Regions from separate parts of the Homo sapiens genome. Here regions 2, 3 and 4 are each linked to region 1. The links are contacts of gene promoters, found by promoter capture Hi-C in blood cells and fetal thymus (Javierre and others, 2016). All regions are on one chromosome and are shown on one strand. The core of a region is centred on a gene start or on the middle of the fragment in contact, and the rest is flanking DNA. Distances in the headings are between cores, read along the strand shown.

What was found. The method cuts DNA at HindIII sites, captures the fragments that hold promoters and counts their contacts. A CHiCAGO score of 5 or more calls a contact.
Region 2: the fragment with the promoter of NAP1L1 here is called in contact with the fragment with the promoter of PPP1R12A in region 1 in 2 of 17 cell types (non-activated CD4 T cells and total CD8 T cells); the score reaches 7.8 in non-activated CD4 T cells.
Region 3: a fragment that was not itself captured here is called in contact with the fragment with the promoter of PPP1R12A in region 1 in 2 of 17 cell types (total B cells and total CD4 T cells); the score reaches 6.6 in total B cells.
Region 4: a contact is called between the fragment with the promoter of ZDHHC17 here and the fragment with the promoter of PPP1R12A in region 1, in 6 of 17 cell types (non-activated CD4 T cells, neutrophils, total CD4 T cells and 3 more). The highest score is 12.1, in non-activated CD4 T cells.

Annotation. Positions count from the first base shown.
Region 1 is chr12:79,931,868-79,939,465 of GRCh38, reverse strand. It overlaps PPP1R12A (protein phosphatase 1 regulatory subunit 12A), which reads left to right and starts at 4,369. Exons shown (of 25, transcript NM_002480.3): 1 at 4,369-4,771. The coding sequence starts at 4,535. PPP1R12A-AS1 (PPP1R12A antisense RNA 1) reads right to left here and starts at 4,185. Exons shown (of 2, transcript NR_146535.1): 1 at 3,912-4,185. RefSeq lists enhancers at 3,854-4,419, 4,143-4,437, 4,484-4,783, 4,420-4,983, 5,124-5,183 and 1 more and a silencer at 4,864-4,953. The HindIII fragment of the contact is 9,894 bases long and covers 3,008-7,598 here.
Region 2 is chr12:76,080,542-76,088,139 of GRCh38, reverse strand. It overlaps NAP1L1 (nucleosome assembly protein 1 like 1), which reads left to right and starts at 3,455. Exons shown (of 15, transcript NM_004537.7): 1 at 3,455-3,573. It overlaps LOC124902970 (a long non-coding RNA gene), which reads right to left and starts at 3,055. Exons shown (of 2, transcript XR_007063379.1): 1 at 2,973-3,055; 2 at 1,407-1,929. RefSeq lists silencers at 3,021-3,180, 3,621-3,700, 3,841-3,890, 3,961-4,020, 4,071-4,140 and an enhancer at 3,184-3,725. The HindIII fragment of the contact is 5,148 bases long and covers 1-4,588 here.
Region 3 is chr12:76,557,406-76,565,003 of GRCh38, reverse strand. OSBPL8 (oxysterol binding protein like 8) reads left to right here and starts at 5,233. Exons shown (of 24, transcript NM_020841.5): 1 at 5,233-5,607. It overlaps LOC105369850 (a long non-coding RNA gene), which reads right to left and starts at 5,102. Exons shown (of 4, transcript NR_188081.1): 1 at 4,771-5,102; 2 at 2,646-2,709. RefSeq lists a silencer at 5,403-5,592 and an enhancer at 6,003-6,312. The HindIII fragment of the contact is 537 bases long and covers 4,298-4,834 here.
Region 4 is chr12:76,759,231-76,766,828 of GRCh38, reverse strand. It overlaps ZDHHC17 (zDHHC palmitoyltransferase 17), which reads right to left and starts at 2,714. Exons shown (of 17, transcript NM_015336.4): 1 at 2,500-2,714. The coding sequence starts at 2,592. RefSeq lists enhancers at 2,367-2,516, 1,708-2,550, 2,526-2,820, 3,117-3,216 and a silencer at 2,567-2,976. The HindIII fragment of the contact is 3,524 bases long and covers 525-4,048 here.

The DNA.
Region 1 (7,598 bases), core at 3,120-5,619:
AGCACTTAGCACAATATTCTTTTTTCACTACCTTTTAATCTTTCCGATTATGCTAAACTGAAAAATCTTAGGTTGATGCTCACATGTCCAACCCTTACCAATATCCCTTTTTTAACAAATTGAGAGCACAGCTTGGGCTCAGACCCTTGACAGACAACCTAACTAATGTTTTGTTTTCATTGTATTTGCTTTAACAGTCTTCTTTATGTCAAGTGGAAACGTTTTTCACTTACCAAAGCAACATAATGTTGCTTTAAAATAAATTTGTCTTAAAAAGGTTAAAGAAAACATTAAGCAAATACTAGTATTTGCGGTTCTTGAATTTGGCAATAAAACTGATAAAGTTTGGGAAACATTAATTCATATGAAAGGGGCATGTGATGTTCTGTCACATGATACAGGTTGGGAGTCATGTGCAATGGAGGTGAGTTATCTCTTTAGCAGTATAACTGCACTTTGGATTGTTGCCAGACACTCATCTGAGTCCTAGTTTTGGGGAACAAAAGAAGCTTTATGAGCATATTAGCCAGTACTTGTACTGTGATAGGGTTAGTTTCTTGAAATGGAGTCAGATGTGGCAGAAAATTTACCCTAAAGTAAATTAGAAACTCACCTTGTAATCCAGAGGCAAGGCAAAGATTAGATGCTATGATCTAGAAATCAGGATTGATCTAGCAATGGAGTCTGAAGCAAGTTAGGGTGGTTCCATGTTGGTTCTGGTCAACTCCCTGGGTAGGACTAAATAAATTATGATGTGAATGGATTGTAAACTTTTCTTCAAGTTCTTTTTTTTTTTCTTTTTGAGACAGAGTCTTGCTCTGTCACCCAGGCTGGAATGCAGTGGCACAATCTTGGCTCACTGCAACCTCCGCCTTCTGGTTCAAGTAATTCTCATGTATTCTCGGGTTCAGCCTCCCGAGTAGCTGAGATTACAGGCACGTGCCACCACGCCCAGCTAATTTTTGTATTTTTAGTAGAGACGGGGGTTTTGCCATGTTGGCCAGGCTGGTCTCGAACTACTAACCTCAGGTGATCTGCCCACGTGGGCCTCCCAAAGCCCTGGGATTACAGGCATGAGCCACCGTGCCCAGCCTTTTCTTCAGGTTCTTAAATAAAACATTGGAAAGAAATTATTATGCAATGGAAGAGAGTTTGGCCCAGGTGTAGAATACAGGAGACAGAAACAAGGTCCTTGTTGACTGTTCTATTCTCAAGTGTATAAATGTAAATTAGTATCTCAGGTTTAAATTAGGGATAAAGAGAACATAGATATATCAAAGTATTTATTAATATCTTATGTACATTTTTAACAAAGAGATTATAATAGCAGAAACAAATCTAAGCTGTGCATGTCAGCATTTCAAATATGTTTATAATTTAAATTAAGTTGATCATAATTAGCAAGCAAATTAATGGTAAGGAATGTCAGTAGTGTGATTAAACTTTGAAAAAGATATACACAGATCTCATTCTGACAATCTTGTGCATGTAATAAATAAAACCCCCAGCCAGGTACAGTGGCTCAAGCCTGTAATCCCAACACTTTAAGAAGCCAAGGCAGAGGATCACTTGAGCCCAGGAGTTTGAGACCAGCCTGGACAACATAGGTAGACCCCATCTTTACAAAACTTAAAAAATAAATTAGCTAAGCCTGGTGGTGCACGCGCCTGTAGTCTCAGCTACTTGGGAGGCTGAGATCATGCCTCTGCACTGCAGCCTGAGCGATAGAGTGAGACCCTGTCTCAGAAACAAAAACCTCCAATATGATTGATTTGGTGCAGCCAAAAATATATTTTTATATATACATATATGCAAATTAGTAAGTATAGTTTTATTTGTACTTCTATTTTAAGGCTTAATTTGCTTTAAAGGAGCTAAAATGTATCCTCACATCCCAATCTGTTTAGAAGCCATTAGGAAGTGAAAATATTTGCATTTTTTCCATTTGTTCTGCTTAGACAAATATGTAATAAAAGCATGTGTGTGTGTGTGTGTGTCTTTTTTTTTTTTTTTTGGTAAAGATAGGGTCTAGCTCTGTCGCTCAGGTTGTAGTGCAGAGAGCTCACTGCAGCCTCGAACTCCTGGGCAGAGTTCGCCTCAGCCTCTCAAAGTGATAGGATTACAGGTGTGAGCCACTGTGCTGGGACTGTGTGTGTCAATAAAAAATTTTGCTTGTTCTAGAATTAACCCAAGGTCTTCAGTACCATTAATTCACTAACAACAATTTAAAAAAAATCCTCCCTAAAGACAAAGTAGGTGGCAGTTTCAGAGTACTTTCAATATTAACATAGAGCATCTTGACCCTTAGAGCCACGAAAGAAGAAAAACTAAATTCAGTGAAATTTGCACATGATAGCAGCCCTCCTTGGTTGTTTTTTCCCTGACAGCTTCTGGGAACTGAATGAACTTAATTATGTTTTATTAATAAACTATTATTAATTTTGCATCCTGAAATAAGTGCTTGAATCAGGAATAGCATACTTCCCACTAAATTCCTTTTGCCTGAATGAAATCTTCAGATTCCCATCTATACTGCAAGGGCACTTTAAGAGCTACCACATAGGCCATAACGTTCTTGGAAAACAGGATATGCTGTCAGTTGCCTAGGTAGAGACAGGAGCTGACAAGGCAATCCTCAAGTTCCTTTCTTTTATTCTGAGAGCTGTATTCTGTGGATAGGGATTTTGTATTTTAGTGCTAACAATGTTTTTCAGTACCTAACACCATGAGTATTCAAAGGTCTGATGTTATCTTTAATGTATGTAATGAACATACAATGGTATATCTTATGAATATTACATTCATTTTCTATTCCTACAACGTTTTCAGAGGAAATATTTTTACCCTGACCTGGATTCTATCGCTATCCTAATAACTGTGGTTCAGAAAATTGTCTCACAGGCAGACAGTTTCCTAATCACGTTTTACTCAATTATTTTATTTCTCAATATGATAGGCTGTGAAGTAGTCCACTGGAAAAGGCATCATGCTGAGAGTAAGAAAAGCTTATTTGTTCACTGCTCTATCTCCAGCACCTAGAACAATGCCTGACCCAGAACAGGTGCATAGTATTTGCTGAGTGAATTCTAATCCTACTTCTGGGTAAAATTAAGTAAATTAATTAGTTCTTGAGGGACTCTGTCTAGATGACCCCTAAACTTCCATGGTAAGGTTTTGTGGTTTTTATCTTGGCTTTTCTAAATGCTCTAAAAATAGTAGTGGATGGTAACAATGCAGTGTTCAGTAAAATCAATTGGTGGAGATTGTAGATAGATGGCTCATAAGACATCAGTATTACAAATCCTATGTGTGTGCGCGTGTGGTCATACAAGGCAAAGTTAAAGTCTTTTTTTTATGACGATGATAAATTAGTCTTGTTTGGGCGACTGAACTCAAGAGGTGGTTCAAATAAATGTCATATTTTTCATTGTATCTTCAGTGCCTAGTACAGTTACTGGCTCATAGTAGGTATTCAATAAATAGTGGTTGAATTAATTGCCTTCCTTAACGTTCCGTTTAAATGCTAGACGCAGCTAGGTCTTTACCCCTCCTTAGAAAGAGATGGAGCTGTAACCAGAAATCCCTTAAAAGGTAAGGACCAGTAATCAGGCTGAGCTAAGCTCATGGGTAGTACGAGACAGGCTTAAAGCACTGAAGGAAGAAAGAAGAGAACCCAAGCGTGAGAGAAAGCAAAACAAAACAAGTAAAGAGAGGAAGAAAAACATTTCTAAAGTGGGGGTTGGCAGGAAGCCACAGCAATTACAGCAGGTCAACCCTTGTCAATAGGTGGTCACCTCAAGAACTTACCATTAAAACCCTCGGCCACACAGACCCCACTTTTAAAAGGTTATTAATTCTGACATGCCCAAGTTCATCTGAGTTCCTTAGAAAGATCAACCAGCAGCACCTACTTCACGACCTATCCTCCATTCCATTCAAATAACGCGGCCAATAGGAAAATCCTCCGCCCTGAGCCAACGACTCGGCGTAGCTGAGACAGCACGGGAGGCAGATCTGCCCTGTAGAGCCTTGCGGTTCCACTGCTGGCCTCCGGATTCCCGGGAGCCCCCAGCCCGACAGGACAACCTTCCTTCCCCGCTTCCTCCTTTCCAGGTCTGTCCCAGCCCCCGCTGCCTGGGCCACACCCGCTTCCCTCTGGTGGCCCAGCCACCACCGCCGCAGTTCGCGGGAGCGCTCTTCCTGGGGCGGGCACAGGCCCAGGGCGCATGCGCACTGGTCGAAGGGCGCCTCCCAGTCCGGATCTCGCGAAGTTACGTTAGATTGGCCGCCGGTGACGGGTGGCCGTGCTGGGGGCGGGAGGGCTTCTGTGGTAGGAAGGGAGGTCCGCTCGGCCGGGTGCGCCGCCCCAGTGCTCTGTGGGATACTGGAAGTCTCGAGCGTCGGCTCCGGGTTCCCAGCCCTCCTCTGGCCCGCACTCATAGAAACATTCACACACCCCCTGCCTCCCCTCTCTTCCCTCTCCGCCTCCCCCTTCCCCCCCTCGCGATAAGAAGACCCGGCGGCAGGAGAGGGGATGAAGATGGCGGACGCGAAGCAGAAGCGGAACGAGCAGCTGAAACGCTGGATCGGCTCCGAGACGGACCTCGAGCCTCCGGTGGTGAAGCGCCAGAAGACCAAGGTGAAGTTCGACGATGGCGCCGTCTTCCTGGCTGCTTGCTCCAGCGGCGACACGGACGAGGTCCTCAAGCTGCTGCACCGCGGCGCCGACATCAATTACGCCAATGTGGACGGACTCACTGCCCTGCACCAGGTCTGTGCGCCCCGCCGCCGGCTCTCCTGACCGTGAGGGTTCTCGTCGGCCTCCTGCTCGGGCCTGCCCTCAGTTCTCCACCTCTTGAGGCTGGGGGCGGCGGGAGACTCCCTGCTGCGGGGTGAGGGGGCGGTTTCCCCAGAGGGCGGGAGGGAGAGCTGGTGGAAGGGAGGGCGCTGGGCTTGAGGCCCCCCTTCAGAACAGTTGCTGGTGGAGTTGGGAACCGGGTGATTTCCGGGGCATAGGGGAAAAGGAACTGTGGTCGTTTGGGGCCCCAGGGCCATTCGTGGATAAGTCTGGGATTTGGGGTCGAGACAAGGAGGGGTGTAGTGGGGTTGTGCCTGGGCCCCGGTGTCAGTGGTATATTCGGAGGGGTGGATGCTGAAGGAAGAAAACTAACAAGGGGCATTACGGACGGTTAGGCAGATGAACATCTTTGACTTGTAGGTGGGCATTGGATTTGTTGCACTTTTTAGGACTTGATTACAAATGATGATAATAATAGTAATCTAGAGCCCTAAGCCGAGTGCCCTGAACGAACGATTTCCTGTTTTCTCATTTATTACTCTTGGTCACTGGGGAGGGGAAAACAGGGTGTAATTAGCTGATCTGCACCGGCTGAAAGGAAGGGGATGGAAGTGGGTAGAGTAAGGAAGCCCTCTAAAGGGCTTGCCCACCTCCGGACCGGAACGTGTTGAGTCTGATACTCGAAGTTTGCCGCAGTGTCAGAGATCCTTGAGCCCCAGGTCCTCGGGTGTGCACTGGTGTTAGAAAGAGAAGAATAAATAGGGGACACTCTTTTCAAAGCCGGTTACCAAGCTCTGGTTTTTCTTTTGGGGTTGGGAAAAAAGAAAGCTGGTCACAAACTTTTCTCAAAATGGATGCTTTGTGCATATTAAAGTTTTATAGTAGTCTGATTGGGATCTCTCAATGTTAGCCAAATAAGGAGAAACTATTGGCAATCCAGAGATAATGTTGCCTTGCCTTTAACAGGCCAAAAGCAACACAACCACGTAGAGTTATGCATAAAAAGCAATTTTTAAGTGACGGTAATAGGTGACAAAACATAGGCTTTTTCTATTTTCTTAGCGGGCAACTTGGAATAACTGTAATAGAAAATGACTTTGCAGCGATAGCTTCCCCTTAACAATGAAAAGACTTGTAAGCTATCTCAAAGTTGCCTTGGTTGTGTGTGGAAGATGCATAGCCTTATTTTGAATAATGTTGTAGTAAAAACTTGTTTGGGAGGTTGAAACTCAAGGCTTTATATTTCATGAATATTAACTTGATGCCTTTTAAAAAAAAGGTGTGTAGTGACATTTTTCCTTGTCCTGCTTACTGTTTAAGGGAGTGATGACCATTTTAAATTTTGTGTAATGGAATTCTCTTATCAGACTTGGAGTATAGCCTTTGTTTACAAAGTTGACTGGATATATTGAAATGATTGACACATTGCAGGACAAATATGGAATTAAAAATGTGGCACCCAGTAAAAATATAGCAGGGTGTCTAGCGCTTTCTCAATTTCATTAATTTAGATTCTCTAATGCATAGCAAACTTTTTATTTGGGTGAAGTTTATTTAAGGCATATCATAACTCGTAAAATTTTAAAACCATGGTGTTGAGAATGAAGGAAACTTTTGGCATTAAAAATGATAATGTAATTATATAAGATGAATCTTCAAATTTCTTTCAAGTGTACTTTACACGTTTTAGTGTGAAACAGATTTTGAAAGACGATTATTACTGTAGGAGGTCAGGATAATTGGATAATGGTTCGCATCAATATGTTTTATTCAAATTGTCAAATAGAAATTTAAAGTTACTATTGTTGTGGAGGAACCCAGTTGTATTGGCTTAGAGGAAGACGAAAAGTTTTGATATTTACATTATTGTGATACTGGTTTAGGGAGGAAGAGAAAATACATTTAACTGCCTTCTTAAGATCTTTTTTTCTCCTCTCAATATTCACACGTTACAAGAATTGTCAGACTTACCAATGTCTTCCTGATTAACTGAATTCAGTGGTCAGTTTGGTGTTGTGTAGATATATCTTTATTGGGTATTTTGTTTTAGTTGACAAACAGAAGTTTCTAAATTTACTCCATTTGCGTAATATCTTTCTGTCACTTTTTGTCACTGTGAGTGTGGGTTTGACCCGATAATCTCCAACCGCCTCCCCTTTTCCATAACATTTTTCCATATCTGCAAATGCCTTAAATCGGTGAAGCCAAAGTCTTTAAAATATCAAGCATTAAAAATTTGTGTTATGTTTTCTTCACTCTCATTTCTTATTTATCAACTCTTGTACTTTTTTCCCATTGTTACTATGAAAACAGGGAGTTCACTTTGGGCAAATTTAGGACAACAGTTAGTGAAAGACAATAAATAAAATTAAAAACCACACACACACAAGAAAATTTTAAGCCTTTAAGAAATCTCTTGAACTTAGCTTGTTTTCCATACTTAATTGTAAAAACTAAAATCACTGATTTAATAGTCCTTGAATAGTTCTTTAAAACTTTAACCTCTCAAAAGATCGTAGAATACCTAAAATGTATAACGGGGTTAATTGTTGATTGTTTTTTGAATATTCATTTACTTTCTGGTTTTGATCAAGTGTTCTAAATTTCATTGTCAAGAGAAAAGTTTTAGGAACATCACAACCCACAAATATGCTTTTGAAAATCGAATATTTTGCTTTTACTTTAAAGAGCTTATATTTAAAGGTTTATTAATTTGTTGAATGTGCTACCTCATTAGAAGTTATAAAAGATATCCAGTCTTCAGCTGTTCTTTTTGTATAGAAATGTGTCCTCTGTATAG
Region 2 (7,598 bases), core at 2,206-4,705, 3.9 Mb after region 1:
GCCTGGGCATTGTGCAACCCCATCTCTACTAAAATACAAAAAAATTAGTGGGATGTGGTGGCGCGCACCTGCAGTCTCAGCTACTTGGGAGGCTGAGGCACAAGAATTGTTTGAACATGGGAGGCAGAGGTTGCAGTAAGCCGAGATTGCGCCACTGCACCTCAGCCTGGGTGACAGAGTGAGACTCTGTCTCCAAAAGTTTCACAGCTGGGCAAGGTGGCTCATGCCTGTAATCCCAACACTTTGGGAGGCTGAAGTGGGAGGATCTCTTGAGTCCAGGAGTTCAAGACCAGCCTGGGTAATATACCAAGATCCCTCTTGACTTAAAAAAAAAAAAATTTTTTTAAGTTTCACAACAGCCCTATGAAAAATGCATGCTTATTTTCCCCATTTTACAGATGTGGAAAATGAAACCTGGGATGGCTAACTGACTTATCCAAAGTTACACAGCTATTAAGTGGTAGAAAAATGGGGACAAAATAGGCTGTTTGACTCCAAAGCCACCCCTCTAAGCCTCCAGGCTACAATGCTATAAAAGTCTACCAAATGAAAATCATGGGAGATAGAGAAAAAAGGACCTTTAATTTTAGTATATATGCTTCCAAAGAGAGCATGAGAAAAGGAACTGCAACAGAAAATTTCGCATGGCCCAAGATCAGTGACCAGGGTCACCATTTATTGCAATTAAGTTAGATGAGTTAACTACATTGTGTGATTTGGGGGTATAAGAGGGGCCAATGTAAAAAGCTCAAAGGTGGCCGGATGCAGAGGCTCACACCTGTAACCCCGGCACTTTGGGAGGCTGAGGCAGGCGGATCATTTGAGGTCAGGAGCTCGAGACCAGACTGACCAGCATGGTGAAACCCCATCTCTACTAAAAACACAAAAAAACTAGCTGGGCGTGGTTGCGCCTGCCTGTAGTCACAGCTAATCGGGAGGCTGAGGCAGGACAATTGCTTGAAACCGGGAGGCAGAAGTTGCAGTGAGCCGAGATCGCGCCACTGCACTCCAGCCTGGGCAACAGAGTGAGACTCCGTCGAAAAAAAAAAAAAAAAAAAGCTCAAAGGTATCTTCAGGTCAGTCACCTCCTACCCCTTTTCTCATTTTATTTTCTTTATAGCATTCACTTATCAATTATTTATTATTGATAAGTGAAATTGTTTTATTACTAATATTTTATTAGTAAAATTATTTTATCTCTAATCATTTGCCTCACCTCACTAGACCATAACTTCAATAAAATCAAGAACCGTGTCTTTCTTACTAAATGCTGTATTTCCAGAGTCCGAAGTTGTGCCTGACATAAATATTTGTTGAATGAATGCATAAATGTCTGCCCTTCCCTGAACTTTAATGGCAAAGACTTAGATTTACAAACTGGTTCAAAAGACTATATTACAAAGGCATGCATTATTAGAAATATTTTATTGTTTAGTTTCTTAGATTGGCTAGGATACACTGAAAAAAGAAGAGGAAGCTGGAGAAAAGGGGGAAAGAGCATATGTACTGGTAATGATAACACCTAAGTTATAGGGGTTGGTGGGGGGGTGGTGAAACCTAAAAAATCCAGAGCCTTCATGAGCGAAGTGCCGAAAATTGATGAGGCTCTCTGGTGTGGGATAAAAACCACCACAAAAGCTAACTTCTCAATTTTGTCTCAGAAATTCTGCTACCATAAAGATTTATGGAAAGAAAGTGAAAGTTATTTAGTTCATTTTAATATGCTAATTACCTTGCATCGTGCACAGCTTTGATTAAAATGCAACATTCCTGAAGTTCTTATTGAAATTAATGTGTCAAATTTATGTTCAAACTGAGCACTGGTCTACCTTGTTTATGTATAGTGGGTTCTTCCTGAAGATCCATTATTGATGCTATTATGCTCCTTGTATCATTACATCATTGTTGAGAAGGGTGTACAGGAATAGGCTATGAGAACAACAAAGGAATTGTATATGAAAAACTAAAATGAATGAATAAACAGAGTCGTCTGCAGTATAGAGTGGGAAGGCAAATAATTTCAATGAGGTTCTGGAGGGCCAAGGAAAACATTGTATCCCCTAAAACGGAAGATAAAGTTGCTAAATGTGTGGATTACAATAGGGGATTCTAGGCAGTTTGAAGTTTCAATAAATGCAAGATTTAGAGAAGAGGTTCTCAAACTTTGTGGTCTTAGGATTCCTTTACACTCCTTTAAAAGTTGAGGACCCCAAAGAACTTTTATGTGCATTACTGATACTGATATTTATATCAGAAATTAAAAGTGAGAAATTTTAAGAGTATTTCATTTAAAAACAATAAAGCAATCAAATATTAACAAAAAATAATTTTTATATGAAAAATAACTACTCCCCCTTGCCCCCAAATCGAGTTTTTGCAAATCTCTTTAACGTCTGGTTTAACCGCAGATGACTGGATTCTCCTATCTGCTTCTATTTTCAGTCTGTTTCCTTATCACATGTCACGTAGCCTCCGGAAAACCCCACTGTACACTTGTGAGAGAATGAGAATGCAAAAGGCAGTCTTGACATTAATATGGAAATAGTTTTGACCTTCCCCATGAAAGGGTCTGGGGACCCTCAGACCATACTCTGAGAACAACTTTTTGAGTTAGTATTAGTCAATTCATCATCACTTGAAAATTAGCTATGAGGTTTTACAAGCCTGAGGATTTAATGTGATTTACTTTTTCAGAAAGATGAAACAACGGACGTACTGAGTGTCCTCATTATAACGCATCCAGAGAATGCACAAATATGCCATTTTCATCCGTCAAAAGAACTGAAGCCGAACTGACGGACTGTACATCAGTTACGAGGATGTGGCGGGGGGTTGGGGGGCAAAGGATGACGAGCACCCCCTAAAGGCGCGGAGACCCGCTGGCATAGGAGAAGCAAAACTGTCAGAAGAGGCCGCCGAAGTGGTCTAGAGGAAAAAACTGTTTTTCTTAGGCGGGGAAGGAAAACGGTTACCGGGGGCCGGCGAGTTGCAGGAATTAGGCCTTGACAGGGAGCGTCCGCCGTCTAGGCTGCGGCGAGCGAGGGACCAGGCGACTGGCGCCAGCCCTGAGCGTTCCCAGCACAACGCCGAAGGGGGCGGGGCGGGCCGGGCGCCGGGCACGCGGGCCAGGCCTTCCCCACAACTGATGGGGTTGAAATTTCCTTTCCGGCTCAGCAGGGAGAAAAGATATGGTGGGGTGCTTAACAGAGGAGGTTAGACACCGGCGGGAACCAGAGGAGCCCAAGCGCGGCGCCTGGGCCTCGGGGCTGCAGGAGTCCTCGGTGGGGGTATGGAGGTCGCCGGGGAAGGAGGACGGTTCAGTTGCTAGGCAACCCGGCCTGGACCCGCCTCTCGCTCGCGTTGCTGGGAGACTACAAGGCCGGGAGGAGGGCGGCGAAAGGGCCCTACGTGCTGACGCTAATTGTATATGAGCGCGAGCGGCGGGCTCTTGGGTCTTTTTTAGCGCCATCTGCTCGCGGCGCCGCCTCCTGCTCCTCCCGCTGCTGCTGCCGCTGCCGCCCTGAGTCACTGCCTGCGCAGCTCCGGCCGCCTGGCTCCCCATACTAGTCGCCGGTAACGGATGGGGGCCTGGAAGGGAAGGGGGAACGTGGTGTTGGCTGGGCGGCCTGCGCAGATGGGAGGGCCGGAGGGATGGAGGGACTGGGAGCCGGGAGTCGGGGCCGCTGGCCGCCCGTGGCCTCCGGGGTCGTCCTGTGAGGTCGGACAGGACCGCGGAGTCCGGACCCCGGAGCCTGAGAGGGGCCCCGGGGCCGACCAGCGCTTTTATCGGGGACGGCTGAGGCGACGTAGGGGTTGGCGCGGCCTGGAGGCCTAAGGTTCTCTGAGCTCCACCGTCTTTTCCGCGTGGACCGGAGCGAGGCCGCGGTGACGCCCGGGTGCCCTGAGACTCGGCTGCGCCGCGAGGACCGGGAGGCCCCCGGCGTACGGGCCGGGCCGAGTGCAGAGCCGGCCGCCTCTTGGACACCCCCCTGCTTTTCCCTCAAAAATAATACCAGGAGGGAGGCCGCTGGGAGATGAAAAGAACGGCGGAGGCTGCGAATTCCGACGGGAGGGAGGGGCTGTGGAGGGACGAGTCCCCGAGGCGGGGAGGGGGCGGGGGAGGCTGCGACGCTCCCGGGCTCTCCGCCCATTGGGGGCGGCCGCGCGGGGAGGGGAAACCCCCGGCGGCTTCGCTCCACACGTGGTAATGGGCTTCATGGCCACTGGCTGGGCCTGGTTGGAGACCCTTGCCCTCGGTCTGTGCTTACTTTGAAAGTTGTAGAGACGGTGGAATGTGAAAAGGAAGGGTAAGCGAGTAAGCCCTGTCCCTGGGTTTCAAACTCTTCCCTGCTTCTCTTTGGTCTTAATCTTTTTATTGGTACCAGAGATTGTGGATGTTAGCTGATGATAAGGAAGGGCCTCCACTGCTAGTATTTTAAAAAGTTAACGCGTATATAGCGCTTATATTAACTGTTATTAGCAAAAGGTTGTTATTGTGTTTCCCAGGTACTGTTAGATGGGTGTCTTGATCAGGGTTTTTTATTTGGGGAGTATTGATCCTGATCGATCTAAACCCCTAAACCAAGCTTGTCCAACCCGCGGCCCAGGACGGCTTTAAATGTGGCCCAACACAAATTCATGAGGTTTTTTTTTTTTTTTTTTTTTTGGAAAAAAAAGCTCATCAGCTAGTTAATGTATTTTACGTGTGGCCCAAGACAGTTCTAGTGTGGCCCAGGGAAGCCAAAAGATCGGACCACCCCTGCAAACGGTTCTTAGATGAAAATAAAATGTTTGGCCCTTTATGACTTTAATTGTTCTTGGCTGTCTTATAAATTAGTTCCTTTATTGAAGTCACTAGAATAAGATACTTAACGGTTTCCTTTTTAAGATGGGAGGTGGGATGGAATGAGGTGTTAGTATAAACTTTGCCAAGTTTGTAGCCTGCAACCTTGTCAATGAACCCTACTGCCCTAAAGATCTGGGGGATGGCAGTGTAGGGGGGCTGGGACTGAGGTCCCATCTGGGAAGGCTAGACTTTGAGAGTGCAAAAAGGATGAACCAGGCGCAGGATGTCCTCAAGGAGCCCGTATTTTAGACGGTCACTGATCAGTTTTGAAACAACTACATTTTAAAAATCTCACTGCTACATTTGAAGATATCCCACTGCTGCATTTTAAAATTTACACTGCTTGCCTGGTTTCACAAGAGCTGTAAAATGAAATTTGGCCTTTTGAAAATAGGTGGATTCAAAACATCTTTGGAAACGAGTATCTGGGTCCTCTTTTTTTGGTCAGCTTAAATTAATACTCCTATACTTTGGAAGTAATATACATTACCTTTGATTGAATAAGGGAAAAACCTTTTATGTATAGGGTACCATTTAAAAATCGAAGGGAAGTAAATGACTTTTACAGTTATTTTCAAGGCACTCTTGTGTTTCAAGCTTGTTTGAAGTTGCCCAAGTTTAAATAAATGGCCTAAATCTATAGTTTAGTTCTAAGAATACTGTCCTTTGGAGAATGTATGGAACTAAACCCTGGTAGGTGGACTTGGACATCTTCTGTCATAAAACCTGACTTTCATAGATTCTCCAAGTCAACATTATGTTAGTAAATAGAAATTTAAAAGTTTTCACTATACCAATTTGAATATCTTTCTAAATTTTATCTGCTACAAAGTGCCTATTTTTATATTAGGCCCATTGATTTGCAGAATTATAAAGCTAATACTGAATATGGTAAATTACTGCACTTGGCCTTTAATGAGATTTTTGAAACGAATACCTGTACCATAACTAATGTAATCCAAAATGCCATCTCATTTTATTCAGCTTGCTCCTGTTGGCTCCTGGTAAAACTGAGTTGATTCTAAATTCTCAAAATATATTCAAAACTAAGGGTCTTTTTGTAGAAGGGGCTAAAGAAGCAGTATCTGTTGGACTTCAAAGGTCTGAAGATGTCAAAATACAATATTTTATTCACTTCTTGGTTGTAAATTTGAAACAAAGGATTAGAGAGAATGACTCATCAATATCAAAATATTAATGATCAGTGTATTCAGATCTTCAAGTTTAATCAAACCTGTAATTGTGTTCTCAGTTTAGTCTTTGGGTAACTATCTAGCACCTGTATGGACATGTATCTTATGTCATGAGCAAAAGAGGCAAATTGGTTGCTTAGATGTAGAATGTTAAATTGTGATGAGAGCTATAAAGGAAGGAAAGGGTAAAGGGGTCAAAGAGTAATACAGCGTTTACACAAAGGAACCTGTTATAATTTGATGATTTTAAGTTCCATTTCAAACTAGTTTCATCTAAATAAGTTTTTGGGCAGAATAGGGGTTAGAAGGAGAGAGTTGTTACTTTACACCTATCCATATGTAAGTCGTTTAGCACAATGACTACAGAACATTAGAGTACATTAGTGGGCTTGCCATAGAAAATGGCTTCTATACCTTTGGTTACCAACTCTGCCTTTTACTTCCTGCATATTTGTATATATTTTTACTTATTCAGAAGTTTTGTACATTTTAATTTTTATTGGGAAACAGGGTTATATATATTTTTTCCTTGTGGAGACAGGCTCTTGCTGTGTTGCCCTGGCTGGTCTTAAATGCCTCACCTCAAGCGATTTTGCCTTGGCCTCCCAAAGTGCTGAGTGTATGGGTGTGAGCCACCACACCTGTCTAGAGTTATAATTTCAGTCTTGGAATTATTTTCTAAAGAGGGTACAGAAGAGCATAACAGGGATAAATAATGTAATAGGCAACACTGATTGATTATTCAGGCATTGTTTTAAATTCTGTGTGTATTATTAGCTCATTTAATTTACTTAGAGACAGGTAGCATCAACATTTTAACAAGGAAAAAAAATAGGTGTGGAGTGGTTAGATAACCCGTCCGTGGTTACGTACGTGAGCAGTGATAACTTATGATGAGATAATTTTTATCCTGGTTTTGAAAGAATGTTGACTTACACTGTTCTGCTATAAATCAGCATGAATATTAGTTCATTTTCTGTTGCTTAGAATACCTGAAACTGAGTAATTTATTTAAAAAAAAAGAATTTATTTCTTGCAGTTATAGAGGCTGAGAAATCCAAGATCGAGGGGACCCATGTGGTGAGAACCTTACTTGTGGAGACTCTGAAGGTTCCCAAGGCAGTACAGGGTATCACATGGGGAGGGGGCTGAGTGTGCTAACTGGGTAGCTTGGCTCTCCAGCTCCCCTGGTGGGAAACTGGGTAATTTATAAAGAAATACATTAATCCATGAATGGATTAATTCGTTTGTGAGGGTGGAGCCCTCATGATCCAATCACTTCTTAAAGACCCCCATCTCTCAGTGCTGCCACATAGGGGATTAAATTTCAACTTGAGTTTTAGAGGGGACAAATACTCAAACCATAGCAGCATGAAATTCAAAAGCACTCCACCTTGTATCCCACTGTGCTCTAGGGAAAAGCTGTATAGCAGTTATGGTCATGAAGTCTTCTTCCAGCATAGAATTTGTTTACATACACAGTCATGCATGGTTAATGATGGGGATGTGTTCTGGGGGAAATGCATCATTAAGCCATTTCATCCTTTTGTGAATGTCAT
Region 3 (7,598 bases), core at 3,317-5,816, 3.4 Mb after region 1:
GTTCAAGCGATTCTCCTGCCTCAGCCTTCCCAGTAGCTGGGATTACAGGCGAAATTTTTGTATTTTTAGTAGAGATGGGGGTTTAACCATGTTGGCTAGGCTGGGCTCAAACACCTGACCTCAAGTGATCTGCCTGCCTTGACCTTCCAAAGTGCTGGGATTACAGGCATGAGCCACCACACCTGGCCCAGTCCGTGACTTGTAAATCCAGGATCTGAAGTCTTTTAAAATTTGTTTGTGCTGTCTTAAGTCTGTACTGTTTCTCACGAATGGTGTCTTATTCTGTGCTTGTTATTTTTTTTTAAATGTGAGCTGCTCATTTTCCTTAAAATTTTATTTATAGTCATTCTTTATGGCTTAAGATGAAGGTGGGTTCCTCCAGAGAGGATTGGTATTTGCTTCTGCCAGGTTTCTGAGAGCATTATCAGTCAAAAATTCATAATTACGCCTAGGTACAGTGGCTCATGCCTATAATCCCAGCACTTTGGGAGGCGGAGGTGGGCGGATTACCCGAGGTCAGGAGTTCGAGACCAGCCTAGCCAACATGGTGAAACCCCTGTCTCTACTAAAAATAAAAAAATTAGCTGGGCGTGGTGGCACGTGCCTGTAGTCCCAGCTACTCGGGAGGGTGAGGCAGGAGAATTGCTTGAACCTGGGAGGCGGAGGTTGCAGTGAGCTGAGATCATGCCACTGCACTCCAGCCAGGGCGACAGAGAATCCCTGTCTAAAAAAAAAAAAAAAAAAAAATCTTAATTATTAGCCTGAAGTTTTTGGGGACCACCCAGCTAGTATGAATTCAAGCTACGTTTTTGTGTGAGAATTGGATTGCAGTTCCAAATTCTCAGATACGATTTTGCTTTTCCCCTGTCCACCAGGTGCCAAGGTTTAAGACGGCTAATTTTCTTTGTAGATTCTGGGGGATGGGTGCCTATGCTAGTAAGCAGCAAGTTTATTTCTAGTATATCCTTACATCAAATTAATAATCCTTGGAATTGCAGTTGTTTGTGTGTGTGTGTGTGTGTGTGTGTGTGTGTGTGTGTGTATAATGCAGGTAATGGGTTTTGTGTCTTTCTTACAAGGTCACGAAAACCAATGCTCCTAGTAACTGGGTTTAGCACATGCCCTTGAGATAAAAGTTGGCTGACTCTGCTAAACTCTAGGTTCCTGCCTTCATTTAGTTTTTTAACTTAATAATTTCTTACCCTATTGTCAGTTAATCAATATATTTAATAAGATTTAAAAAATGTTTTTTCCAGGGATTTTGTTTTCAGTGTGACAAGTGTGAACTAGTCCTTGATATTTCTAGAAACAGAATCCTATATTCTCTTTATACTTTACTATCCAAATTTTCCTCAAGGGATATTTAAGACAAATAATACTAAACAGAAATATTTAAAATCAGTATGTAAATATCTTACATGCAAACATTTTGCATGCAAATTTACAGATTTTATAAAGACTGCTTCTTAACATAAATTTTAGGTGGATATTTACCAAATAGCTGGTTGACTAGTTTGTAGATGTCTGTTATTTATTTTATTAAATAGACAAATATTATTGTTCCACAGTACATTTAGCCTTTGACTCATGAGTTTGTTGGCTCAAATTCACTTTAGATGATTTGCAAGATTATGCTACGCAACAAACAATCTCAAAAATATTTGTGATTCACAACAACAAATATTTTTGTTTTACTCTTGTTTCACATCAGTAGCCGTATGTCAGGAGCTGCAAGTCAGTTGCTTCAGTTCTGTACAGGGTGAGAGTTTCAGGTCTGCTCCATCTATTTTCTTATTCTGAGATCTTATCTGGAACATACCTTTCTCATGGCAGGTGGCACAAGAGTAAGAGATTGACCTGAATTTTGCAATCAAATTTAAAGCCTCTGCTTTGATTTAGCATTTAACATCTGCTCACAAAGCACTGGCTAAAGCAAATCACATGACCAACAAGAATACAAGTCTTCAAAGCTGTGTTGAATACCTTATTTATGGCTGAGGTTGCTCTTAATCTAAATTCTCTTCCAGAAAATGAGGATTTTAGTCTAGAATCCTGATTAGTAATTGTCAGCAACATAATTGTCTAATGGGATAAGCCAAATGGAAAAAAGCAAACAACCTCAAGCAACATCTCTGTCATTCTAGGTCAGGGTTGAAATATACTGTGGGAAAGGCTGTCAAGCCTGTCAGTGCTTAAACTAATTTGGAAAGAACTTCCCATTCTTAGAAATGTATAATTAATAAAGCAGTAGGCAAAAGAGATGAATTCTCATTGGAGTTAAAATCGGATCGTTATAATAAAAAAGCTTTATTTCAAAATGTCATTCTTAAAATCATTGTAAGAGTAGCAAACTTGCAGGGCATCTCTGGGAGTTACTGAATATTTTTCAGTTACAGTGCAGGATCACATATTAGTTTCTGTTTATGTTGTCATTACATTGAAAATGCTAGATTGAATTATCATTCCTGGAATCACAATATCAGATTTGAAAGGATCTGAAAAAATGATTTTTCAACTGTAGTGGATTAATATATTTTTGTGTTGCAATCAGTTGTTAAGTATGTCAAAATCATTAGTTATTCATGACAAGTAACTATTATACTAGTGATAATCAAAGTAGAGAAGATTGTGAAAGATATACTTACATTTGTTTTGCAATATCTTCACTTTCAATTACTTGCATTAGGACTTTCTTTTTTTTGAGTGGAGCTGAAAGAAGTTAAACGTAGGCTGTCAGTAATTTGCATAATCCTGAGTATACCGTGTCTGTTTGTTTCCAATGTGATTGCCATCCACCGGGAAAAAAAAAAGGTGGTTTAGTATCATTTCTCAAACAGCATGTGGTCCTACTTGATTGGAACTTGAAATGCAGGGAGTAATTTATCTAGTCATACATCTCATTAGCTAAGTCTGTAACCTAGGCTTCCTTGCTTCCAGTACATTGCTTTTTCCAACAAATGATCAAATTTTCAAAAGCCAATGTATGAAATTGGGGCTGAGGCAGAAGAGAATTAGGCAAGGCAATTTGCCACCTTTTTCTAATCTTTAGTCTCAGTTTCCAAAGTAAAATAAAAGTACCAGAAAAACGGGGTCCAGATGGTGTATTTTGCATATTATCTATGCTCTAGGAACATTCTTTTCCAAATCTATTTGATTGCAACTCACAGTAAGAAATTGTTTAAATCACAACATAGGACATACTCTCACCTTCCACCATATTTGAAACAAAAAGTTTCAGGAAGCAATTTTTGCCCTTACTAGACATTATGCACTCTGGTATTTTATATTGTATTACATCCTAGCCTATTTCATATAAAAATGAAATTGATTTTTGAGTTGCAGGTTGAAAAACATGCCTCTAGAAAACAGGAGACAAGTTAATCTGTTAACAAACTCCAAAGTTACTAGCTTTGCTGAAATAATGTCACAGAATAATAAACTTCCTTCACATTTATTTGTACTACAGTCTCTCAGGCTTCAGAACAGAACCTGGTAGAATCTTTTCCTCTTTGGAACACCAGTTCATGACAATATCTCAGAGATTCTAAGACTCGTTGTTTCCCAGTTCATGACAATATCTCAGAGATTCTAAGACTCGTTGTTTCCCAGTTCATGACAATATCTCAGAGATTCTAAGACTCGTTGTTTCTGACATGTTTACATCTCTGAATTCAAGATGTGTCTCAGGCCGGGCGCGGTGGCTCATGCCTGTAATCCCAGCATTTTGGGAGGTCGAGGCGGGTGAATCATTTGAGGTCACGAGTTCAACACCAGCCTTGCCAAAATGGTGAAACCTCCTCTCTACTAAAAATACAAAAATTAGCTGGGCATGGTGGCGCATGCCTGTAATCTCAGCTCCTTGGGAGGCTAAGGGAGGAGAATCGCTTGAACCGGGAGGCGGAAATTGCAGTGGGCCGAGATTGCGCCTCTGCACTCCAGTCTGGGAGACAGAGTGAGACCCTGTCTCAAAAAAAAAAGGAAAAAGATGTGGCTTAAAGGTGCCTTACATATCAGCGGTATGGCATAGTTTCATTGGCAGCCTTTGTTTTCTTTCTTGGGTAACATAAAACAATGTAAGTCTATGATTTTTTTAGAGCTGCTATGAAATATATTAATAATAATTATATAGGCCAAACTCTATTGCTTATTCATTTCAATGTATCCAGCTTATCAGAATGCCTTCTGATTTCTTGTTAAGAAAATGTAATGAGATGAGAATAGCTTAAGAAAAAAATCCTTAGTTCTGGGCTACAAGGGAAAATGAGTTATGACCCCAATTTAATTATTACAGAAAGCTTTCTCATTTGCCTTCATTGTGATCAGGGTTTGAGTATGATCTTTATTCTACCTCCCTTACTTCTGTATAGTTAGGATTTCATTAGGCGGCTAGAGGGTTCTTCGGATCATGGCTAAAAAAGAAAGCAAAAGGTTAAGTCCTAGAGTTAAGGAATTAGGAAAAAAAAATTAAGGCATTAGAAAAAAAATCAAGAATTAGGCTTTATTTTAAAAAATGGAACAAACTGTCAAATTCCTGCGTACCCGTTTAAACTGTCACCAACCTAACACACTGTAAAACTTAATGACTGTAAAACTGGCAGCAGGATCCTGAACATAACAAGGAACAAAAATAAGTTTGCTAGGCTGTTTTCATCCCAGCATGATTGAAATACACCGTTTCCTCAAAAAAAAAAAAACCTCTAATGAGGAAAGCAGTAAATTAAATGCCACGGTTAATGTGCCACTAGAAATAGGAACAAGTAGTTTAGTTACCGAATGCTTCTTAGGCCATACACTCTACACCACGATGCGTTCTTTTTTCTGTTTCGCTAAAGCTTTCACCAAGCCTAAGGCTGGAGAGGGGTCCTAACTGAGCCCTGACCAGACCAGGGAGCCCTACTGTGCAATCTCCTCAGGTTAGGAAGGGCCCAGTATGACCGGCCCAGAAGGCCTGGCCGATCAACAGGCGCTGGGCCGACGGTGGTGGGCTCGCTTCCTGAGGCTGCCCTTGGGCATGCGGAAGGGGACTGGCTGGCGATAACACCCTGGCGAAGCAAGGTGGACAGTGACTCCCGCCCGGTTCGAGCCCGCCTAGCAGGGGAAGCAACTCCACCACCGCCTCCGCGCACCGTCACGTGACGGGAAGAGGGCGTGGCCGAAGCCCGTGATCCGGGGGGCGGGCGGGGCAGGGGGAGGGCACTAGAATGTGAAGGATCTTCGCGGTTCTGGGTGCCCAGAAAGGCGGCGACGCGGCGGATGACAACATTAGGCCGCGACGCGCTCCTGGCCAGGCGGCGGCTGTAGTGTTAGCTTTGGACGCCGCAGTAGCCGCTGCCGGTAGCAAGCCGACTGAGGGAAGGTGGGGGTCCGCCCGGGCTGGTGGACCTCGGGGCCGAAAGTTCCCGCCCCGCTCGGGGGCTGAGCCGGCAGTGCCTCCGCGGCCGCTGGGCAGCGCCCTTCGTCCAGGCTCGCGCCCCAGCTGCCGCCGACGACAGCGGCCGAGAGAAGTTGGGGTCTGACTAGACGCTTACGGGGCCTCGGACCCCGGCGCCGCGGCGACCTCGGAGGAACCGGCTCCTTGCGTCCCGCCTCCCTGGGAGCTCCGCACGGGTGAGTGTTGCTCCATTCCTGAGGTTGGGGTGCTGGGTTCGCACCCCTCAGGGCGACTGCGCACCCTTATTGCCACGTTCTGAGCTCGGGCTGTCGGGGACTCCTGGCCACCCCCGCCGAGGAGTTCTTTGGCTCCTTTGTTCCCTTTTGGAGTAGGGGGATTGGAAAGGCTGGCAGGGTGGAGTGTTTAGGGGCCCACAGTAGGTGCATCTGCAGCCTTACAAAAGCCGCGGCAGGGGAACGGGGGTGGGAGGCTGTTGGAGCATTTCGACCGCCCCGGGTGTCTGTCCCTCCTGAAGTTTGATAGGTTGATGGCATGGGCCTCGTTGGGAGCCCCCGCGCCCAGGAGAGCTGGCGCTTTGTCGCTCGGTGCGGTTAAGGCGAGGCTCCTTCTTTCCTGTGACAGCCCCAGAGAAGGCTGTGCCGCGCACCGCAGACCGCACCCGCCTTTGCAGAGCCAAGCGACACGGTGTTGTTCCTCTAAGCCTCAGTTCTCCCGGCCTTCTTGTAACGTAGGAGGAAAGCCAAGCCTTTGCTGTGCTTTTAAATTTAATGTTTGTTTCTAAGCCCTCTCTCAAGAGTGGAATCAGGTTCCAAGGAGCTTCACAGGCAGCATGCTTTAGGTTCATTGAACCACCCACTCAAGACTGGCTGAGGCGAAGCAACAGTATATGCAGATTTTCCATTCACAAAAGTCATTTAACACTCTTCTTTATGAGACACATCTGCGTTGCAGAACGTAACCTAATTTCATTTTATTTAAATGCTTTCTGAAATAATAGGTAACTTGGACAACGTAAACAGATGGGTAAACTTTAACTGATAATGTAAGTATATATGCATTAAATAAAAAATTTAATGATGTTTTTGCCTTTCTGCTGCTAGAAGACTTAAATGACGTCTGAGTAGTAATACAGTGTCTCCTGCATGGCAGTTAAGTTTTTCCCAAAATTAGTGCTGCTTTTGAAATAATCCTTTAAAACAGTTTTTGCCTCCCTTCGTATCTAGAGAGAGCAAGAATTGTGGAGAATCGTGGGTGAATTGATTGTTAAATTTTGCTAATTTCCTAGAGTTTCATCTAAACTTGATTTTGCTGAGAGGCTATGATCAGTTTCTATGCTTGCTAGAACCTGTTTTGCAGTGAAATTATTAAGATCATGCTAGTTTTATAAAATAGGTTGGAATAGGAAAAGTAAGGCCATGCAATTTAAAACTGTTCTCTATAAAAGTACAACTAATTTCAAATGTTTGTTACTTTTATTTTTTTTTAATATTAACCGTGTATGGAGTGACTATAATATACCTGCTCAAAGGGCTGAGAAAGGAAATAGATGAAACTTAAGCTACCTTTTGGGTCTTTAATTATGGACATCAAGTTATTGCGGTCACATTCCATGTCAACCGTTTGAACAGCAATACCGTGTACACAGGTGCTTAGAAATGCCTGTTTAATTAAAAATGGCCATGGTTTATTTCTCTTTGATTGAATCATAATAGTTATTGAATCTCTGATCTGTGGAAAGATGCTACTGTATTTTCCTTAGAATGTTACTGCATTTTAAAGACAGTCAAATATGTTTTTTATAACACATTCAGGGTACTTATACATTTGTCAATATTCAGTTCCTTGGTTCATTTAAAAATTGGAAGCCTTAGAAAACACTTTGGGGATAAATTTACAATTGTGTATAATGAATTTATGTTTTAGTTTGCTTTAAGAAAAATGATGAAATTATGAATTTGTAAAATATGCATTACAAAAGGATTTTTTTTTTTTTTTTTTTTAAGACTGTCTCACTCTGTATCCCAGGCTGGAGTGCAGTGGTGCAACTTGGCTCACTGCAGCTTCTGCCACCTGGGTTCAAGAGATTCTTATGCTTCAGCCTCCTGAGTAGCTGGGATTACAGGTGCGTGCCACCATGCCAGGCTAATTTTTGTATTTTTATTAGAGATGGGGTTTCACCATGTTGGCCAGGCTGGTCTCCAACTCC
Region 4 (7,598 bases), core at 1,465-3,964, 3.2 Mb after region 1:
AGGATGGTCTCGAACTCCTGGGCTCAAGTGATTCTCTCACCTCGGCTTCCCAAAGTGCTGGGACTACAGGTGTGAGCCTCCGAGCCCAGCCAGGATCTCCATTTTCTGATTACAACTGAAGCTTAAAGAAATTAAGCACTTGTCTCAGGTCACTTAGCTAGTTACCGAATTTCCAGAATTAGAATCCAAGTCTGTCTGACCCAAAGTCTATGTTCTCTCCAAAAAGAGGTTAAAAGTACTATTATTTCATTACTTACCAAGACAGAGAATGGGTTTCTTCCCAAAGGAGACTGAAAACACTGCTTATTTTAACAACAAAAACATATTATCTCAGTTAATCCTCGCTATAGCTTATTAACTATTATTTTTATCCATTATAAATGATGAAACTAGAACTCAGAGACGTATTCATAGCTTGCCCAAGAACACACTGCTAGGAGGCAGCAGAACTACCCCAGGTCTGCACCAGCTGCACACACTAACCACAGAAAATGCAGAAAGACCTCAGCCATGTAGTACAAGCTTAAGGTCCATCCAAAGTATTAAAATAATCAGACCTTGTGCTTCTTGGGTAAAAAGGAACGGTATATATTATGTATGCCAATTCCCACTATCAATGATGAGGAGGTTGACTTTCTAGTAATATCCTATCTATCGAATGGCAACCTGAAGATCGGTAGCTAAATTTCAAGCCTATACTGGCCATTCTACTACACCAAATAATCTGGATTTGTTGCCAGTTAAAATTATTCTTAAAGTAGCAAACAACAGTACTATATTACAAAGCAAAGGTTTATGAAGAACAGTATGCTAAAATACGTAAGATAGGCCTGGCATGGTGGCTCATGCCTGTAATCCCAGCACTTTAAGTAGCTAAGGTGAGAGGACCACTTGAGTTCAAGAGTTCAAGACCAGCCTAGACAACATAGGGAGACCTCTTCTTCTACAAATAATAAAAAAATCAGCCGGGTATGGTGGCGCGAGCCTGTGGTCACAGCTACTCAGGAGGCTGAGGGGAGAGGATCACTTGAGCCCTGGAGGTAGAGGCTGCAGTGAGCTGTCATCGTGTCAGTGCACTCCTGCCTGGGGGACAGGGAGAAACCCCGTCTCAAAAAAATAAACTGGATAAACACTTAAGTGTTTGAAATACTTTCACGAATACTTTCACAGGAACAGATGAATAGAAATCACTTAGCAACATTTTCAAGGCAACATCTGAAAACTACTTTGTCTATTTCCTGACGTATGTTAGGGCCTAAGTGAACCAAAAGAGATGTCTACAATGCCAGTTCTGAAAATGTTACCACTTTGGTCAGACAAGTGTTTAGTCTTACTGTATAGTTCTGTTTATCAGAAACCCAGAGTAGCCTTTTCTACTGAGACTGGCACAGGTATATATTCCGAAGGAACTGTCCCATGTGTTTTTGATAAACCAAAGTGACGAATGAGAGGGTGGTTGAGTGTTAACATGCAACATAAAAGGATGGTTGTCATTATTCACTTTTTAACAAAAACTAGTGGCATGGTACAAACCCAAATCCAGAAAAAAACAGAATCACTCCATTGCAAAGTAACCAGGTAGAGACTTCCATGTTTGTTCATCCTACAACACGACTGTCATCTTTTAACCTCATGAAAACTACCCGAGTTCTTCAGCAAACTGTGCCGCTGCCGCATACAGACATCACTGTGGATCACTAAAAATCAGAATGCATCAAGAATTGCTTCCAAGCCTTAACTAGCACTAGCTCAGCTACAAACTCGGAGGTAAACAAGCACAGACTGACTGACTGTGGAGCGGGGCACTGTTTACTTACATGGGAAGACACTCATGTTGTGATGGGAAACGTGTTGCACTGTCCACCCCTAGCTCCTAGAAAAACGGTACTTTGACAAGCTAATGTGAGTGTAAGTCTATTCCCAAAAGTTTTTACCTCTCTTCTTAATCGCTTAAGGACAAATGCTCAAAAAAGGACGCCCGACACAAGGTGCCCGAGGTGCTACCCATGGCATTACCTGGAAGGACATCACTATGCCCATGAAACTGTCCCCTCACAGTGGACTAAAAGGAAGCAATAGATACCGTCATTCACCCTGGCGAAGGAAAAAGAAATCAAAACCAGACGCGCTTCCACCTGGCCCCAAGAGGCTTGGAGCAAGACTAGGGTCTAAGCTGCGGTTCAAAAACCACACCAGGCCCCTCCGCCTCTGCTCTCAAACGCAGCGCGGCGACACAGCAGAACCATCAACACCTCCACCTCTGTCCTCCAGGCACAGCCAGGGACTGCGTCCCAGAGCCCGCCCCGGTCGGGCCCGCCCCGCTATCTCCTCCCCCGTTATCCGCTCGCAGCCGCGCTCAGGCCTGGATTCGCCTCCCCACCCTCCCCAACTTCGGCACGTCCCACTACCCCACACACGTCGGCCGCCGCCCTCGGCGAGTCCGGGGAAGAAAGGCTGGAGGGCCGCAGGGCAAGGAATCCACTCAGCACGGTTCCTCACCTCTGGGTGGAGAAGGGGCACACAGCCCGCTTCGGTATCGTACTCATCCGGGCCGTCCGCCATCTTGGTGTTAAATCCCTCCTCCCGCTGCATGCTGGGAGAAAGCGTTTCACCCTCCCGGGGCTCGGGCGAGGCGGAGGGCGAGCGCGGGGCGAGCGCGAGCCCCGCCGGAGGCGACGCGGGCCTCCTCCTCCTTCTTCTCCTGCCCCCGTGACGCCCCCTCTGTCCCCTCCCCCCTCGGAGGGCGCGGGTTTCTCCGCGCGTGCGCGGAAGCGCGGCCCGGCCCCAGACTGGATCGCGCTCTGCTGCACTGCGCTGGGGACGGCGGAGGGCTCTGGGCGTGGGCCCCGCGGCTCGGGGGCGGGTCCCGGCTGGAGGTAGATGTGAAGCTCTGGCTGCCCGGGGGAGGCGGCCGGGCGGTTGAGACAGTCGCTTGGGAAACCTAGCAGCTGCTCAGGAGCGAGAACAGAGCTCCGGAGCCGCACGCAGCACAAGTCTGGAGCCCCAGGCAGCCGAGGAGCCCACGCCCACGCGCTCCCACTTCCGCTCCGGGACCCCCGGGACCCCTCTTCAGGAACTCGGGCAGAGTCGTCAGCCAGCTCCAGGGAGGTTTGGGCCCGTCAGGCTTGAGTCGAGACCTGCATCATTCCTGAAGACAAAAGCAGCTTCCCTTTCCTCCACACTTGAAAAGGTCACCCGCAACCTGTCCCTCCGGGGGACGCCCGGAAAAACATGGATACAACTCGGGACTTCCTACTAGAGAACCCTTTTTTTTTTTTTTTTTTTTTTTTTTTTTTTTTTAATGAGACAGAGTTTTGCTCTTGCCGCCCAGGCGGGAGTGCAATGGCGCGATCTCAGCTCACTGCAACCTCTGCCTCCCGGTTCAAGCGATTCTCCTGCCTCAGCCTCCCGAGTAGCTGGAATTACAGGTGCACGCCACCACGCCCGGCTAATTTTTGTATTTTTAGTAGAGACGGGTTTTCACCATGTTGGCCAGGCTAGTCTCGAACTCCTGACCTTAAGCGATCCGCCCGCCTCGGCCTCCCAAAGTGCTGGGATTACAGGCTTGAGTCACCACACCCTGCCGAGAACTCTTTTTAAAATGATCCCAACCTGCTCTCAATCGTCTTGAATTAGTACCACACAAAAAATTTACGAGCTCAAAGCCCACACACCGCCATCTGCAACATTTCGATATAATCCAGGAATTCAGAACTGAAGCCACTTAAACTGAATTCGCTTAAATGCAAGGCAGATAAAATGACTAAAGCCATTTTTTAAAGGATTTTAGGGCGGTATGGGGGAGGTGCTCCCTGTAAATGGGCTGATGGGACAGTTTTAGATAGCATTTGTCTTTCCTTTTAGCTGTTAAAAATTGTAAGTCTAAACAGCTGAGAATTTAGCAGAGATCATGAAAGTTGACCTATTAGAGATCCTGGTACTTACTAATCTGTCTCCTGTTAGGCCAGAAACCACCAGGAAAAAGCCTGTACTCCGATAACGTCAGGCCAATTTGTAAATCAGGAGGGAGGGCACTCCAAAGGAAGCTTGGAATGCCACTGGAAAAGGAAAGAGGAAGCCTCCTTTGTAAGATTAGTTTCCCGCCAAAGGAGTCTGAGGAGGGTCTAAGGAGAGCCAGAATCAGTTCTGCATGGGACGCCGTTTCCGTGGCGGCATGAAGAAAAGCTGGGATTTACGAGGGATTGGATGCTGTCTTGAGGATACAGCAATTTAGTAATTAGGTACCTCCAGTAATAAAGTAGCAACACTAGTAAGAGCAGCAGTTACTCAAAGAGGGGTGAATATGGCGTGTCATAGCTACTGCACGGCTGTGGGAGAAAGAAGTTTCTCAGTTAACTTTGCTGCTGGCTTTTTCTGTATCTGTCCTCCCAGCACAACTACTTTTTCTCATTTCAGTCCGAGCTGATTTTCATTCTGTTCGTCCTGGCCCAAACTAGGAGTCATCTTTTACAGCTAGATAGTCTCAGGGTCGGCCCTTGGAGCATCGAATTGTTTTCAGTCATATGTTAACATGGACATAAGTCATTTTCACTCAAAAATCTCAATTTTTTTTTTTTTTTTGAGACTGAGTTTCACTCATGCCCAGGCTGGAGTGCAATGGCTCGATCTCGGCTCACTGCAACCACCACCTCCCAGGTTCAAGCGATTCTCCTGCCTCAGCCTCCCAAGTAGCTGGGATTACAGACATGCGCCACCATGCCCGGCTAATTTTGTATTTTTAGTAGAGACAGGGTTTCTCCATGTTGGTCAGGATGGTCTGGAACTGCCGGCCTCAGGTGATCCACCCGCGTCTGCCTCCTAAATTGCTAGGATTACAGGCGTGAGCCACCGCACCCAGCCAAAAATCTCAATTTTTTTTTTTTTTTTTTTTTTGAGACGGAGTCTTTCTTGCTCTGCGGCCCAGGCTGGAGTGCAGTGGCGAGATCTCAGGTCACTGCAACCTCTGCCTCCCAGATTCAAGCGATTCTCCTGCCTCAGCCTCCTGAGTAGCTGGGATTAAGGGCGCGCCACCATGCCCTGCTAATTTTTGTATTTTTAGTAGGGATGGGGTTTCACCATGTTGGTCAGGCTGGTCTCGAACTCCTGACCTCGTGATCCACCCACCTCGGCCTCCCAAAATCTTGGGATTACAGGCGTGAGCCACTGCGCCCGGCCAAAAATCTCAATTTTGAATCTTGCCCTTCCTTACCTTTATGTCTTGCATTGACTAGAAATAGAAGATTAGAGTAAATAAAGGACACCGACTGAAAAAGTTAAGTGGCATAAATATTAATAAAGCATTGAATGAAGTGAGAGTGTAAAGAAACTAGGCATGGAAAACTGGAGAAAATGTTTCAGGTACCCATGTATTAGGAATATTGGTACAGGTATATGATGTGGAGTATTCATAAAAGAAATGTTTAGCCTTCCCTGCGAAAATCAGTAAATCAGAGTTCACTTTAAAATCTAGAGTTCTAGTTCATCTGGCAAACAAGCCATCTTGACCTTCTTGCTCAGTCTCTACCAGGTCTATGGCCTGCTTTACTCGTTCTCATTACCTGCCTGGCTCTGTGGATATTTTTACTCCTGAGAATTCCACAATTCAAATATAAGGAAAATACTAAAAGCAGCCGAAAAGTTGGAACAACATAACCAGGGTCCATGTCTGTCTTGCTTACTGCTGGAGCACTAAAATAAATAGTTATTAAATGAAGAACTGAAGAAAGAGATCAAGAGCAGAAGCAGGCATGCTTAGGAAAACATGTTGAAGTTGAATCTTGAAGCAAACCCTTTAGATATGATCAGAGTCCATCTTGATAACTGTAGAGTTCTTATCTATAGCTCAAATTGAGAAAATATATTCAGGGGACTAAGGAGACAGCTAAGAAAGTACACTGATTGGATAGACTGGCAAAAGAATGGCATAGAATTATGGAGGAATGCAGAATAGTGGCTAAAAAAGAATAAAATTCAAAGAGAAAAATAGACCTTGTTAGAGAATAATTGTGAAATGGATTTAGAAGCAAACAGATTGGAAGGCATGGGGCATTGTTGTATAAATATAGTTTCATATGTAACTTCAGACACTACTGGAGCTAAAGACAGCATAGAGATTATCCAGATTTAGTCATTTCACAAAAAAGGAAATGATGGGGAATTTAAGAAACTCTCTTAAAGTTACAAAACTAGGTGGTAGCAGAATCATCTGGAAGCCTCCTGAATTTTCCCCATCTACTACTCTTTGCCTCTACCACGTTTCTTCTGTTGTTATTATCCTCAATGAATTATTACTTGGTCCATTTAATTTTTTTTATTGTGGGCCGGGCACGGTGGCTCACGCCTGTAATCCCAGCACTTTGGGAGGCCGAGGCGGGTGGATCACGAGGTCAGGAGATCGAGACCATCCTAGCTAACACGGTGAAACCCCATGTCTACTAAAAATACAAAAAATTAGCCGGGCATGGTGGCTGGCGCCTGTAGTCCCAGCTACTCGGGAGGCTGAGGCAGGAGAACGGCGTGAACCCGGGAGCGGCATGTGCAGTGAGCTGAGATCACGCCACTGCATTCCAGCCTGGGCGACAGAGCAAGACTCTGTCTTAAAAAAAAAAAAAAAAAAAAAAAAAAGGTTTTTTTGTGGTGAGAACACCTGACGCAAGATCTCTCTTAAATTTCTTTTTTTTTTTTTTTTTGAGACGGAGTCTTGCTCTGTCGCCCAGGCTAAAGTGCAGTGGTGCGACCTCGGCTCACTGCCAGCTCCGTCTCCCAGGTTCACGCCATTCTCCTGCCTCAGCCTCCCGAGTAGCTGGGACTACAGGCGCCCGCCACCACACCCGGCTAATTTTTTGTATTTTTAGTAGAGACAGGGTTTCACCGTTACCCAGGATGGTCTCGATCTCCTGACCTCGTGATCCACCCGCCTCGGCCTCCCAAAGTGCTGGGATTACAGGCGTGAGCCACGGTGCCCGGCCGATCTCTCTTAAATTTTTAAGTGCACAATAGGGTATTGTTAACCATAGGCACAATGGTGTACAGCAGATTTCTAGACCTTATTCGTCTTATATAACTGAAACTTTATACCCATTGAACAGCACCTCCCCATATCCTTCTACCTTTGGCCCTGGCAACCACCATTCTACTGTTTCTATCAGTTTGACTATTTTAGATACTTCACCTTTGGCCTTCAGTGAGTGGCTTATTTCACTTAGCATAATGTCCTCTGGGTTCATCCATGTTGTCACATATGGCAGAATTTCCTTCTTTTTAAAGGCTGAATAATATCCCATTGTATGTATATACCACACTTTATCCATTCATCCATCAATAGACATTTGGGTTGTTTCCATATCTTGGCTATTGTGATAATGCTGCAATGAACATGAGAGTGTGTTTTATGTCTTTGAGATCCCAATTTCAATTCTTTTGAATATATAAGCGGAAGTGAATTGCTGGATCATACGGTAGGTCTATTTTTAATTTTTTGAAGACCCATCATACCATTTTCCATAGCTGCTGAACCATTTTACATTACAGTGTACAAGGGTTCCAGTTTTTCCACATGCTTGCTAACACTTATGTTTTGTGTTTTTTTTTTCATAGTA